5 separate regions of the Homo sapiens genome follow, and regions 1, 2, 3 and 4 are each linked to region 5. Evidence: promoter capture Hi-C in 16 types of primary human blood cells and fetal thymus (Javierre and others, 2016). All regions are on one chromosome and are shown on one strand. Each heading gives the region's core, a stretch centred on a gene start or on the middle of the fragment in contact. The rest is flanking DNA. Distances are from core to core; before and after follow the strand shown.

The links. Contacts are between HindIII fragments. The CHiCAGO score rates a contact against its expected background, and 5 or more counts as called.
Region 1: a fragment that was not itself captured here is called in contact with the fragment with the promoter of TNC in region 5 in 1 of 17 cell types (M1 macrophages); the score reaches 5.0 in M1 macrophages.
Region 2: a fragment that was not itself captured here is called in contact with the fragment with the promoter of TNC in region 5 in 2 of 17 cell types (M1 macrophages and M0 macrophages); the score reaches 6.7 in M1 macrophages.
Region 3: a contact is called between a fragment that was not itself captured here and the fragment with the promoter of TNC in region 5, in 2 of 17 cell types (M1 macrophages and M0 macrophages). The highest score is 9.3, in M1 macrophages.
Region 4: a fragment that was not itself captured here is called in contact with the fragment with the promoter of TNC in region 5 in 2 of 17 cell types (M0 macrophages and M1 macrophages); the score reaches 6.4 in M0 macrophages.

Annotation. Positions count from the first base shown.
Region 1 is chr9:114,763,041-114,765,740 of GRCh38, forward strand. No RefSeq gene overlaps it. Among named protein-coding and RNA genes, the nearest start is that of TNFSF15, 42 kb to the right of the region's middle. The HindIII fragment of the contact is 1,443 bases long and covers 664-2,106 here.
Region 2 is chr9:114,695,466-114,698,213 of GRCh38, forward strand. LOC105376231 (a long non-coding RNA gene) reads left to right here and starts at 385. Exons shown (of 2, transcript XR_007061745.1): 1 at 385-2,748. RefSeq lists enhancers at 1,476-1,525, 1,536-1,655, 2,641-2,748. The HindIII fragment of the contact is 3,680 bases long and covers 1-2,748 here.
Region 3 is chr9:114,666,128-114,668,827 of GRCh38, forward strand. It overlaps TEX48 (testis expressed 48), which reads right to left. Exons shown (of 5, transcript NM_001199233.2): 4 at 2,079-2,210; 5 at 307-619. The coding sequence ends at 516. Among named protein-coding and RNA genes, the nearest start is that of TEX53, 9.7 kb to the left of the region's middle. The HindIII fragment of the contact is 787 bases long and covers 1,027-1,813 here.
Region 4 is chr9:114,732,093-114,734,792 of GRCh38, forward strand. No RefSeq gene overlaps it. Among named protein-coding and RNA genes, the nearest start is that of TEX48, 51 kb to the left of the region's middle. The HindIII fragment of the contact is 6,712 bases long and covers 1-2,700 here.
Region 5 is chr9:115,116,907-115,119,628 of GRCh38, forward strand. TNC (tenascin C) reads right to left here and starts at 1,251. Exons shown (of 28, transcript NM_002160.4): 1 at 1,076-1,251. All of the region lies in intron 2 of LOC124902255 (a long non-coding RNA gene), which reads left to right. It overlaps LOC101928748 (a long non-coding RNA gene), which reads right to left. Exons shown (of 6, transcript NR_110950.1): 6 at 2,633-2,722. RefSeq lists an enhancer at 1,530-2,349. The HindIII fragment of the contact is 3,799 bases long and covers 1-2,722 here.

The sequences.
Region 1 (2,700 bases), core at 135-2,634, 350 kb before region 5:
GTCCTCTGTTTACTGGGAATACTGTATAAACAACACAAACCTATACCTTTAAATAACGGAATCAGCTTCAGCTCACATTCTTAAAAGAAGCATGGGGTGAGACCCTCCAAGTGTCCAGTAGTGTCACACCTGTTGCCCTGGTGGAACGATAAGCAGACGCCCATGAGATCTGACTTGTTGATTTTGTGTTCTCTCTTTTTGCGTGCCATGTTGGTTGAGATCTTGCCCACTGACTGGTGCATTTTCAAAGCATCTCACATTCACGTAAACATCTCACATTCATGTAAACATCTCACATTCACTTAAATTTGAACATTTTAAAATGTTGAAATCACAGCTCTATACCTCACTGTCTTCTGTGCTTCAGCAAATTGCTGAATTTGCATTATGCAATATTCGTGTGCAATATGTCTTGGAGAAAGTCTGAGGCTCGCAGTTTAATTATTGCTTTGAAGTTCTAGGAGCAGGGGATTTATCACCTTGTGCCATAAATACAAAAGTTGGTGACACATCATTAGAAATATGGATCCCCAGAATTAAATTGTTTTAGCTAAAAAGAATGCTATCAAAATGCTTTAAAAAAGATCCTAACTTCTCAGAGCTTAAGGCTATTATATCAGCAAGGTTGAGAGAAAAAGTTTCTTAATTGAGTAAACTTAAAGAAGCTTCATTAAGTGTGTGGGAACTGAGTAATTAGGATTTTCAATCCCTTGTTAAAATACCCTAGTGCATTTCAGGAGGGGAGTTTTCCTGTGGCAACAGATCAACAGAAAGGACCTATAGGCTTGATGTCATTTTATGAGGTTACTGTATTCAGTTTATTCATTCAGTCAATATTTATGGAGTGCTTATTTTGTGCTAGACAGTATTCAGTATGCATTGGCTATACTATTAACAACATAGGTAGGTCTCCCTTCTCAAGATTATTCCAGTGGAATGGGGCTGGAGATATGTATATAATAAAAAAAAACCCAGCATGATTTTGGAGAGTGGTACATGCTGTGTATGGGCAAAGTAGCAGTTGGGAAGTGCTAGGAACAAAGGATGGGGATCAGGCTTGCTAGGGTTGAGAAAGACCTCTCCAATAAGGGGACATTTTGATGTAAAACCGTAGAACCCTAAAAGCTAGGTTCAAGTACCTGATGCGTAGTAAGCCAAACACTGATACATCAGTGCTTAGGAGCAGAGAAAGTTTTATTTGATTTGGCCGAAGTGTGAGGATGGGAGAGGCAAACTCTCAAATCTGACTGGTCTTTGAACATAACTGGGGGTTTTTGTGAGTAAGGTAGGTATGTGGAAGGCGAGATCCCCAATGATCAAAGCTGCTTGCATCCCTCGGCTGATCAAACTTCTGGATGCCATCAAGGAGATCTGCATGAGCTAAGCATCATTGTTCTTTGAAAGAAAACCAAGTTCATTAATCTTGTGGGCAGCCCCCGGGGTCAATATATGAGGTTTATGAATTATTAGTGAATACTCTCTACCAAAATGACTAAGTGCAAGCAAGCACGCATGGAGGAAGAAAAGAACAAAGATTTTTATAACACAGGCTTGGTTACAATCTGAACTGAGACCAACTAAGGGGAAGGAGTGAGCTATGCAACATTCTGGAAAGGCCGTCATAAGCAGGAAGACAGCAAATGCAAAGTCCCCGAGAATTCCTGGAGAAGGAGGGTTGGCATAGTGGCCAAAGGCAGGTGAGAGTCTGGCAGACAACAGTCAGCAAATCCCCATAGTGGGGATTTGATTCTAATTGCAATGGGAAGCCATTGGAAGGTTTTAAGCAGGAGAATGGGATCACTCATATATAATCATTTTCTGCTTGCTGGATCAACTAATTCCCCTGCAGAAGGACTAAATCAGACATTCTAAATTATATCACAGAGAAAGGATTAAAGTAATACCTAGATCCAAGCCTGACCCTAGAGATTCTGATTTATCAGGCTGTAGAAAATTGGTATGTTGGCCCCTCTCTGGGTATTTCTGGTGTTCAGCCATGATAGAGTTGCCACTGAATTAGATCTTATTTTGCAGTAGGTGTTTACAAGTTGGAAAATGAAGCCCATACATTATTAATTATGTACATTCCTACTTAGATGGGAATGAAGCTTGCAATTAAATAAATGCAACAGAACGATTAAATTAGGAAATTATGCCAGAAATGGGATGCTACTACTGTACTATTTCTTTGTTGAGAACCAACTATATATCTAAGGCATTGGACTAGTGCTTTGTGTATCTGATCATATTTATACTTATAAGAAGCATGGAAGGTAGGTATATTATCCCATTTGGACTACAAAGTCTAAGGTCATATGACCAGAAAGTGTATGGCTGGGCCTTAAGATGAGAAGATAATTGTTGTAGAAATAGGGCATCAGACAGGACTGGTTGGTTCCTTCCTTTTGTACACAGACAGACCCATCATTTTCACATTGTGTCTTGGATTTGAGATAAACTCATACATCCCTAGCCATAATCAATTAGAAAACAGCCTCTCTCATTTCTCAGATGGTCTGAATTTATATCAGTGTATGGTTTTAGAATTTCCAAGCCCTAGACCTTGTAGATTTCATCTCCTGTAAGGACTGAAATATTGCCTCTTTTAGAGTCTCAGTTTTGTTCCAGTTTATGTGAAAAATTCTAGACCTATCCTGCCAGGCTGGGCTTCTTGCTCCTTGTAGGTTATCTCCAAAGATG
Region 2 (2,748 bases), core at 162-2,661, 420 kb before region 5:
ACCATGCCTGGCTAATTTTTTTTTTTTTTGTATTTTTAATAGAGACAGGGTTTTACCATGTTGATCAGGCTGGTCTTGAACTCCTGACCTCAAGTGATCCACCCACCTCAGCCTCCCAAAGTGCTGGGATTACAGGTGTTAGCCACTGTGCTCAGCCAGAAAAAGTTTTAAGAATTCATTTTTTTTTTTTTTTTTTTTTTTTTTTGAGACAGAGTCTCGCTCTGTTGCCCAGGCTCTGGAGTGCAGTGGCATGATCCCGGCTTACTGCATTTTAACCCAGGCTTCATGGTTCTTTGAGCTTCTGATAATATATTTTTTAAATAAGATACAAATTTTAAAGGAGATAAAACTAAGGTTGATAATTGAGTTTTCCTTTTTTTTTTTTTTTCAATTCAAGAGCAGGTACTGTTTATTAACTGACCAGATTAGAAAAATAATCATGGTAGACATCTTCATTTATTCTTCTAAGAAGGCTGTTGATCTGGTCCCCCCTGTTGTCAGCATTTCCACCTTCTACAAAATGGGTGGTCTTTTTCTTCATTCCACCTTCTGGAGAGGATGGTTTGGAGGGCCACAGGAAGTTACTTGCTTGTTTGAAGCATTTTCCAACAGTATAGATCTCATGAATCAGATCTTCCGTGCAGATGATACCATATTTACCAAGAGATTGAGCAATCAAAGTGTTACCTGTCAAAGCAATTCGCTTCTTATTGATTTTGCCATAACCACACTTACAGATTAGTTCATTTACTGACTTCAGATTTGGCTACCCACATGCAATATATGGTTCTACAATCCTCAGCATGTTAATTGAAGATGTGTTGAGCTTCACAAAGGTTCCATTGAAGATTTTATTTATTTATTTATTTAGAGATGGAGTCTCGCTCTGTCACCCAGGCTGGAGTGCAGTGGTGCAATCTCGGCTCACTGCAAGCTCCACTTCCCGGGTTCACGCCATTCTCCTGCCTCAGCCTCCTGAGTAGTTGGGATTACAGGCGTGTACCACCACACCTGGCTAAATTTGGGATTTTTAGTAGAGACAGTGTTTCGCCGTGTTGGTGAGGCTGGTCTCGAACTCCTGACCTCAGATGATCCACCCACGTCGGCCTCCCAAAGTGTTGGGATTATAGGTGTGAGCCACTGTGCCTGGCAGGGTCTACATTTTTATCAGTTCTGGAAGAGCCAGGATTTTGCCTTTATTAGGTTTGCCATTTCACCCGGTAGAAGGTGGAGAACTAAATCCCAGGAGCTTTGGGGGTCCCTTCCTGCTCTGACTTTGGGTGGTTTTGCAAGGTTCACTCCCAGAGAAAGGGAAAGGTCCCATTATCACATGGTGGTGTGAATCGGAATAAGACAACAGCAAAAAACAACTCCCACCATCCCCCAACTTTTACTATCTCTGGGGCCTCTTCTGAATCTCTCTGCAGAGAGAGATCAGGGATGCCCCGAAATTGAGATTGTGGTCGAGGACTGAGACCAAGTTATTCACAACATGGTTATATAATGGATGCTCAGTCATATCAGGACTCAGAAGATGTGAAGGGCCCCGCCCTGCAAGCTGTTTGAAGGTCATGATGGCTTCGCAGTGATGGGAAACAAGGCCAGTGTCTCTGTTTGTGGGTTCCCTGCACCAAGGGTATAATTCACTGGGGCTCTTCCCACCATGGCCTGGCCATGTCTCCACCCACCCACCCACCACCTGACTCCTGGAGAATGGGGGGGAAACTTTTATACTTAATTTTTTTTTGTCTTCTCCTCTTTTTCTGTGTTTTCTTCAAATTTGTTATAAGGGGGCAGCTTGGCAGAGGAAATGTGGTAGTGGCCTGAGGCCTTGGGGCTGAAAGAGCCCGGGGTCTGAAATCATCAGAATTGTCTCCAGATGAATTGAAACTGAGATGGAAAGCAGCATATGACTCATCGTGGGTAAGAAGCCACAGTCTTTTTTGTATGATTGTAACCCCCGGCCAAGTGAAAGCAGAATGACCCCTGTCTCTTCTTTGGGGTCACACAGCTACTCAGGAGGGTGAGAGAAAATGATGTCTATGAAGCACCTGCTATGGGATAGGCATTCTATCTAAACCTGTCCCATTTAAACCTGACAATGCACAGTGAGGGAGGTGTGAGTACCACCCCTGTTTTGTAGATGTGGCTCAAGGAAGGTAAAGAACACATCTTAGGGGAGAGGTTTCTGGTAGTCACTCTCCCTAGACCAGAGAGAATAAGTAATCCCTTGGTACCCTCCATTTTTCAGCCCCTCTGCCTTAAAAAGTGTGTGCTATAGAAGGGGAGGTGTCATGTCCACTCTGCTCTGTGTCTTTAGGAAAATCCCCTTTCCTCTCTGGTCTATTTCTGCTTCTGTAAAATAAAGTCTTTGGTATGAGGTCTTTTTGTGCTCAAGGATTCTATATTTCATGCCCACTTCTTACTGCTCACTTTCATTTTCCCTAGCTCCAGGATAGGCCATATCACTTCCTGGAAAGTTCTGTCCATTCCCATGCTCCCATGGACAACTGAGAGTGAGGACATAAGGTGATTGGGATAAGATCTTGATATTGTAGGAAAAATGGTGAATGACTTTGAAATGGACCGAAAAGATGACTGGGTGTCTTCATCAGAAAACTAGGTGTTTCTATGGGGCCTCTGGGCCTTTCGTTGCCTTTGAACTGTTTCAGAACTGTAAGTTGTAGATGACTGAGAGTGATGCAAATGGTTCTTGTCCGTAGATATGCAAATACATTTTCTGGTGGT
Region 3 (2,700 bases), core at 170-2,669, 450 kb before region 5:
GGTTCAAGTGATTCTCCTGCCTCAGCCTCCCTAGTAGCTGAGATTACAGGAGCACGCCACCACACCTGGCAGATTTTTTTATTTTTAGCACAGATGGGGTTTCACCGCATTGGCCAGGCTGGTCTTGAACTTATGACCTCATGTGATCCACCTGCCTCGGTCTCCCAAAGTGTTGGGATTACAGGCGTGAGCCACTGCGCCCAGCCAATAGGCTAAATTTTTTAAGCTTAGTTAGATGTGACAATATATTTAAAAATAATAAGACATTAGTTGGTAAGGGGGAAAGGAAAAGAGAAGGACACATCCTCTGGTGCAATCAAGAACTTTAATTGGAGGCAGCTCTTCCCATGGTGGCTTTTTAGGAGCTGGAGTGACTCTTGCTTGGTGGCACAAGGATGGCTCAGATGTCTTCTCCTCCTTCAGGGGAGTTTCCGAATTAGTCTTCATGACTCCTGTCCACCGCCCTCTTCCTCATGGAGATGCCCCAGCAGCTGTGCAGCCGCCGGCTAGAATGCTCAGGGCCTCCCAGTGAGGCATGGCTGGAATGGCCAGTGCTCCTGGCAGTAGCGGTTTAAGTTTCTCTTGTAAAAATTTCTTTGGGAAGCATATGCATTCAGATCTGAAAGAAGAAAGGAAAAAATTATGCTGGGTGAAGGCCTTTGAATTGGGCTTTGATGAACTGTTTTGGTTGTTTGTATCCATTGCTGATCATTCCTCAGCTTCTTGAATCTCAAGGGACCCAAGGCAGACCCTAGTCTAGGACTTGGAAGTCTTTTGTGATAGGAGGAGTTTCTTGCAGTGTATTTTGCATTGTGTTACGTTGGTGGCTTCAGTGACAGTAGGCTGTCTTGCAAAGCACAGTGATATGGAAGGTAGGAGACTTGGGCCCATCCTGGCTCTGACACTTACGTCATTCCCTAGTGCACTCGTGGGAAGTCCCTTTCCCTCTGTGAGCCTCACCCCTATGGGGGGGTGGGAAGGGCAGAAGGAAGGAGTGGGCGAGCTAGTGGGGTTCCTACCTTCTCAAGCTTGATTCAAGCAGAGCTGTTCCTCTTTGATCTTTTATAGAAAATGGACTCTGTGAAATGCTGTTTTCAAGGGGGTTTAGTTGTTAGGGGAATTCAAAATGACTGGGTTGGATAATCCTTAGTTCTCAACAGGACTCCTGGGGTGGTTGTGAGTTATGTGAGACCACCTGGGGATAGAACTGGCGCCCAGCAATGTGGCTGCATTTCTTCTTCCTGGGCTGTGCCACTGTCCTGGGATTGGGCATCTGTTCTTCTGTGACCCAGAGGCATTTCACCCCCAGTTGAACTACACTCAATCCACAAGTGTTTTCTGGCATTGTTTACTTGCCATGCACCTGGCTGGATCTGGGGGCATAACAGGGAATAAAACTGATGTGGGCCCCTGCCCTCCTGGCACTTACTGTCTAGTGGCCAAAGTAGACATCAAGTAAGCATATGAAAAATACACGTGTAAGATGATGCCGCCAGGTGCGGTGGTTACACCTGTAATCCCAGCACTTTGGGAGGCCAAGGTAGGTGGATCACTTGAGGTCAGGAGTTCGTGACCAGCCTGGCCAACATGGTGAAACCCTTTTTCTACTAAGAATACAAAAATTAACCAGGCATGTTGGTGGGCGCCTGTAATCTCAGCTACTCAGGAAGCTGAGACAGGAGAATCACTTGAACCTGGGAGGTGGAAGTTGCAGTGAGCTGAGATTGGAGACTGCACCACTGCACTCAAGCCTAGACAACAGAGGGAGACTCCATCTCAAAAAAAAAAAAAAAAAAAAAAGATGATGCCACAAAGCTTTGAAAGGAAAGCATGGATGTTTGCCCTTCCCCCCAGACCTGCTCCTTCTCATGCACTTCCTAGCTTGGAAGATAGTGGAGTCAGGTCTTAGCCTCTAGGGTCTCCCCAGTGTGCTCTGGAATATGACTGGGGCTGCTTGATGGGAGCAATTCCATCTCCCCATCTCGCTTAGCTGAAGTATCAATGGGGTCTGGTTATTAGGACCAGGCTCCCTGTCTGGGAGTTTCTGGTCAGTGTTAGGACCCCAATTTGGGACTCACCCTCAAACTCACTGCTGCTGGAGGAAGTGCTCTTTTTTGTCTGGATCAGGGGTGTTCTCGAAGGCAAATGGGAGACTGCGTTAATGCGCTTGGGATTTTGTCTGTCAAGCTCATCCTTCTGAAGCAGCAAATCTGGCAATGAGAATTCCACAGGGTCACGTGGGGGAGGCTTAGGTGAGATCACGGAAGTGAAGATGTTTTGCAAGCTCTGAAGCAGCGCACACAGGCAAGTGGGGGTTATTATGGGGTGGGGGTGTACCTGAAACTACCACCTCCTGTCCTCTGAGGGCTTCCCCTCACAAGCAGGTGCTGGATTCAAAGTGTGTATTTTAAAATAATACATTGTATTTGTATGTATTTATGGGCTACATATGAAATTTTGTTACATGCATAGAATGTGTAATGATCAATTCAGGGCAAAGTATGTATTCTTTTTAAAACATTAACTTTTTTCCATTTATAAATGTAATGCATACGCTTTATAGAAAAGTTAGGAAATATTGAATAGTATAAGGGAGGAAAAAGTGCCCCAAACATCTCTTCCCCAAGTTATTATCACAGTTCCAGTCTTTTCCTATGCATATTTTACATAGTCCATCATATCCTATGTATTATGGATGAA
Region 4 (2,700 bases), core at 174-2,673, 380 kb before region 5:
ATAGCAAGTGTAAAGGCCTTGAGTGGGAAGGAGCTGGCATTTTGAAGGAAGACATGGGGGCAATTTCTCCCTTCCCTCGGCCCCTTGGAAACCACCATTCCACTCTGATTCTAGGAGTTGACTATTTTAGATACCTCATGTAAGTGCAGTCAGGAAACATTTGTCTTTCTTTTTTTAAAGATAACATTGTTGAGATGTAATTGGCATATAAGACCTGCACATACAGATGTGCACAATTTGTTGCGTTCGGGCAAAAGGCACACACCTGTGCTGTCATCACAATCAAGGTCATAGACATATCCAACATCTCCCAATTGGATGGTGTAGATATAAAACAATTTCATTATTATGCAAAATGTTCTTAGACAATGCTGGTCTAATTTGAAATATAAGCAGGCCTATCATTTTCCAGGGAGGGCTTCCTTGGTGACTGTTAGGGGTTGAATTGTGTACTCCAAAATTCATGTTGAAATCCTAACCCCCAGTACTTCAGAATGTAACTATATTTAGAGATTAAAGTCTTTAAAGAGGTAATTAAGATTAAATAAGGTCATTGGGATGGGCTGTAGTCCAATATAATTGTTGTCCTTCTAAGAAGAGGAAATTAGGGTTTAGACTCACATAGACCATGTGAAGACACGGTGAGAAACTGATCATCTGCAAGTCAAGGAGAGAGGCCTTCTGACACCTTGTTCTTGGACTTCCAGTCTCCAAAACTGTCAGAAAATAAATTTCTGTTGTTTAATCCACCCAGTCTGTGGCACTTTGTTACGGCAGCCTGAGCAGCAAAACAGTGATTTTATTCTTTGATCTGCTTATAACACAGGAGAATGCATTGAACTCTTTGGGAATTCAAACCTGTTCAGTCTTGGCCTGTGGAAATATACTAGTCGTAATAGCCTTGGCATGGATGTTAGCTCAAGCCACACCTTCTGAGTATTGATGCATCATCCCTGGTGTCCAGAGCTATTATAATCTTCACCCTCTGTCATGTGACTTTTGAAGAATGAACCCAGAGTAGCCTTTGTGGATTGCTTTATTCCTGTAATTAAGTTTATAGCCTTTAATCTTAGGTCGTTAATGTATTTCTTTTTAAATTAGTAAATAAGTAAGTAATAGACATAAGAAAAAAATTCCATACAGCTCAAGAAAAGCAGGGGAAAATAAATTCTTAAGACAATAACAGTACAGGGTCAGGAGCAAGGAAATCAAATTCCTAGTTCAACATTGAATAGCTTGGATTTTAAAAATGTTATGTAATATTTTTATATATAAGATAATGTTACATAATGATAGTTACATTATCACTGTGACATTATTACATATATTATGGAATTATAGTTTATGTATATGTATGCATGTGCATATCTATATGTGTAGATATATAGTACTGTGGTTCCTCCTTGTCCTCAGTCTTGCTTTTCAAAAGTTCAGTTACCTGCCGGGCACGGTGGCTCACGCCTGTAATCCCAGCACTTTGGGAGGCCTAGGTGGGTGGATCACGAGGTCAGGAGATCGAGACCATCCTGGCTAACACGGTGAAACCCCGTCTCTACTAAAACAAATACAAAAAAAAATTAGCTGTGCGTGGTGGTGGGTGCCAGCTACTCAGGTAGTCCCAGCTACTCGGGAGGCTGAGGCAGGAGAATGGCGTGAACCCGGGAGGCAGAGCTTACAGTGAGCCGAGATCACGCCACTGCGCTCCAGCCTGGGCGACACAGCGAGACTCCGTTTCAAAAAATAAAATAAAATAAAATAAAATAAAAAGTTCAGTTACCTGCAGTCTACTGCAGTCTGAAAATATTGAATGGAAAATTCCAGAAATAAACAATTCCTAAGTTTTAGACCGTGCGTCACCCTGAGTGATGAAAACTTGTGCCATCCTTCTCTGTTCCACCTAGGACATGACTCATCCCACCATATCCACCCTGTATACGCTCCCTGGCCATTAGTCATTTAGTATCTGTTTCAGTTATCTGAAAACCTGTCTTGGTATTACAGTGTGGGTATTCAAGTGACCCTCATTTTCAAAATGCAAGAGTAGCGATGCTGGCATATTGTTATAATTGTTCTATTTCATTATTAGTTGTTAATCTCTGACTGTGCCTAATTTATAAATTAAACATCCTAGGGGTGTATGTCTTGAAAAAGCCATACCATAGTACATATAGGGTTTGGTACTGTCTGTAGTTTCGGGCATCCACTGGGGTTCTTGGAATGTATCCCCTAGGACTACTTTAAATTATGAAGAATCACATTTAAATGGATAAACCTACCGCGCACAGGGAACTTTTCTAATACTATTGAATTGATCTACGTGCTGCTCCTAATCCCATTCCTTCACCCGTCTTTCAGCAGTAAGTACTACCCTGAAATTAAAAAACATCATTTCTTTCTTTTTTTTTTTTTTTTTTTTGAGACAGTTTCGCTCTTGTTGTCCAGGCTGGAGTGCAGTGACGTGATCTTGGCTCACTGCAACCTCCACCTGCTGGGTTCAAGTGATTCTCCTGTCTCAGCCTCCCAAGTAGCTGGGACTAGAGGCGTGCCACCACGCCCGGCTCATTTTTGTATTTTTAGTAGAGACGGGGTTTTGCCATGTTGGCCAGGCTGGTCTCAAACTCCTGACCTCAGGTGATCCGCCCACCTTGGTCCCCCAAAGTGCTGGGATTACAGGTGTGAGCCACCACGCCTGGCCTTCTT
Region 5 (2,722 bases), core at 1-2,500:
ACACAAGAAACAATCCAAGACTGGCTCAATGCCTCTTTTAACTTCCAGAGTGATGGCAGTTTTTGGCAATGACAATGATTATCCAAACTTCCAGTTATTAAGCAGTCATTGCTGATCTTTCTATACCTCATTTTCTCCTCAAAACGACAGCAGACGCTATTGTCCCCATTTTAGAGATGTGAAAACTGAGGATTAAGGAAGTGATGTATCTTTCTCAGGGTCATATGTATGGTGGTGGGGAGAATACCAAACACCTCTGGCTTCAAACCTAAGCTCTTATTCCTCTTACAACACTGATGGGTGAGAAGAACCCCTGTGTTCTTTCCAAAGTACACCAGGGGCAGCAGGGTTCCCATACCTGGGGGATGTTGTTGCTCAGATCTTTCTGTGATGAGAGGTGAGGAGGAGGAGGTGATTCTAGAGACATGTGGGACGCTGCTGGCTCTAGGCACCCCAGTAAAGCTGTTCTCCACCACTCTCTAGCTGCCTGTCAGTTATTCATCTGGCCCAGGAGCCACCTCCTCTCTTCTGTCCCCCAGCTCTCATTTCCAGGGTGAATATTTTGAGGACCAAATGAGGGAATGGGTACAAAACTCTTTGTAAACTTTATGTAAGTGCTGTTTAGATATAAACTTTTATATTCTCCCTGCACTCCTCTATCAAACTCCCTCTAACCCATCCCAGGGGCAGGCTATGAGCAAAGTCTGCCTTAAAACTCTACTGCCCTAACCCTCAAAATAAAAGATATATACAGGTGAATCAGCCAGACTAGAAGTAGGAGAGCAGTTGAAGAGAAAATTTTTACTTTTCCTCTGCAGAACAGCAGAAGATAACAACTTTACGAAAAGTTCCTTCCAAGTCTGACTATTCATAAAGTTAAAACAAACAAAATTACAAGACCAGAAAAGTCAAGGTGCATCTGATATAACCAATACACACTCCTTTTTTTTCCAGCGGTGGAAAAAAAAACCCCATATGTTTTGTAATTATAATATAAAATCACAACTCATTTGGTACCAGGAATGCAATCCTTACATCATAAGGATCTCTAGTGATGAGGGCAAAACAGACTTACCTTTCCGATGGGCGAGAGACCTAGGTCCTTGGAAGAAGTACCTGGAGTGTGGAGCTGCGGCGGTTCCCACGTGCGCGTTCCCCCGAGTTCCCCAGCAGCGCTGCCTTTGTGCCCACGGAGGCGGGGGCGTGTATCTGCGCGCGGGAGAGGCGGGTGACAGTAGGCAGGCTGTGGCCGGTGCAGCCAACTTTGGCTGGCTTATATAGCGAGCTCCTTCCTCTGTAATGGGACGCCTCGCCTCCAGACATCCTTTCCCACTTTTTCAGTTGGCGAATTAAAGGAACAGCCCTCCCAGCGGAACAGGGTTAGCTCATGAAAGACGCACTCACTCCTGGCTCTCGGCCAGGGAAGGAACCCATTTGCATACAATTTATGGCGAAAGTAGGAATTCCCGCCTGCCCGCCCCCGACCCCGAGTAGCTGTTAGTGAAATGTGATTTTTGCTTTGCTCCCCACACGGGTTTTCTAATTGTGAGACGGATGCCTGGGGAGCAAGAGGGAGTAGGATCCGCAGCCCTGGCTCCCCTCTTGTACTTGGTCAAGCTGGAAATGGGACCAGGGCTCGCCTGGGCTCTGGGCAGCAGCTGCTCAGTGGCACCTCGGAGCGAGTACAGGGACTGAGCCCAGTTCCTGGAAAGAGGAGATAAAGCCCTTCAAAAGCCTGGGGGGTTTCAGGTTTCTCTGGGCCAGCGGAGAGATAACCCAGGATTAGGTCTCAGCAGGTGGGGATCGTGCGGGACGCTCACATCAGCCCTGCTTTTCTTGTGTGGGAGCCAGCCTTGCCCAGCTGCTGGGAGGCATCTTTGTTCCAGCCCCAGTGTCCTGCAGGGCAGTAGCTTTTTGACATTGTTCATGCCCTGTGCCTGGTGTGGTCTTCTCAGCTGGGTCTCCAGGGGGAAGGATTTCTGAGGTTTTCTCTTAGTGCTGAAAGGCGTCCCCCACAGCCCTTTCTTTAAAGAAAAGCAATAATTTAAAAAGGTAACAACCTAATCCTTGAGCCATAAGCTGCGCCTTTGCTTTCCAGCCTGCCGTGGATTTCCTCCAAGCTCTGAGTCATCCGTTCGTTTGGTGGTTAGCATGCATTGAGTATCCTCAGGGCATACAGGGGCATTTAAGGGAGTGGAGAAGTAGCACTTCACCCGTGCCTAGAGACTTCTGAGCCTGCCGCAGAGCATAGTAGTTTGTGACAGTGAAGTAAAATGAAGCATTAAATGTAATTCAAAACGCAACTACCATTGAGCCCTCCCTTATTAAGTCTATAATCAGGTGCTGTGCAGGGTACTTTATGAACACTATTTTTGTTCACTATTTTTATTATATCCTTGTAACCAGTAAGTAGGATAGACACAAGTGTCTCTTTTTTACACAAGAAAACTGACGTTTAGAGAAGTAATGAAACTTTACCAAGGGAATACACCTGGGAAGTGTTTATATTACAACACTGGGCTCCAGAGATCTATTACACGTTACTGTTTAGGAATAGGGTATGATGATATTTAAACAATGTTTTATGCTGTATTAGATTGTTAACACCATTTGTGTAGAAATCACAGCCATATTTGAATATGGAAAATATATTTATTTGCTCCATAAAGCTAATTAGGAGAGATCTTTGATTTTTAAAAATTAACTACTAATAATGGAGGTC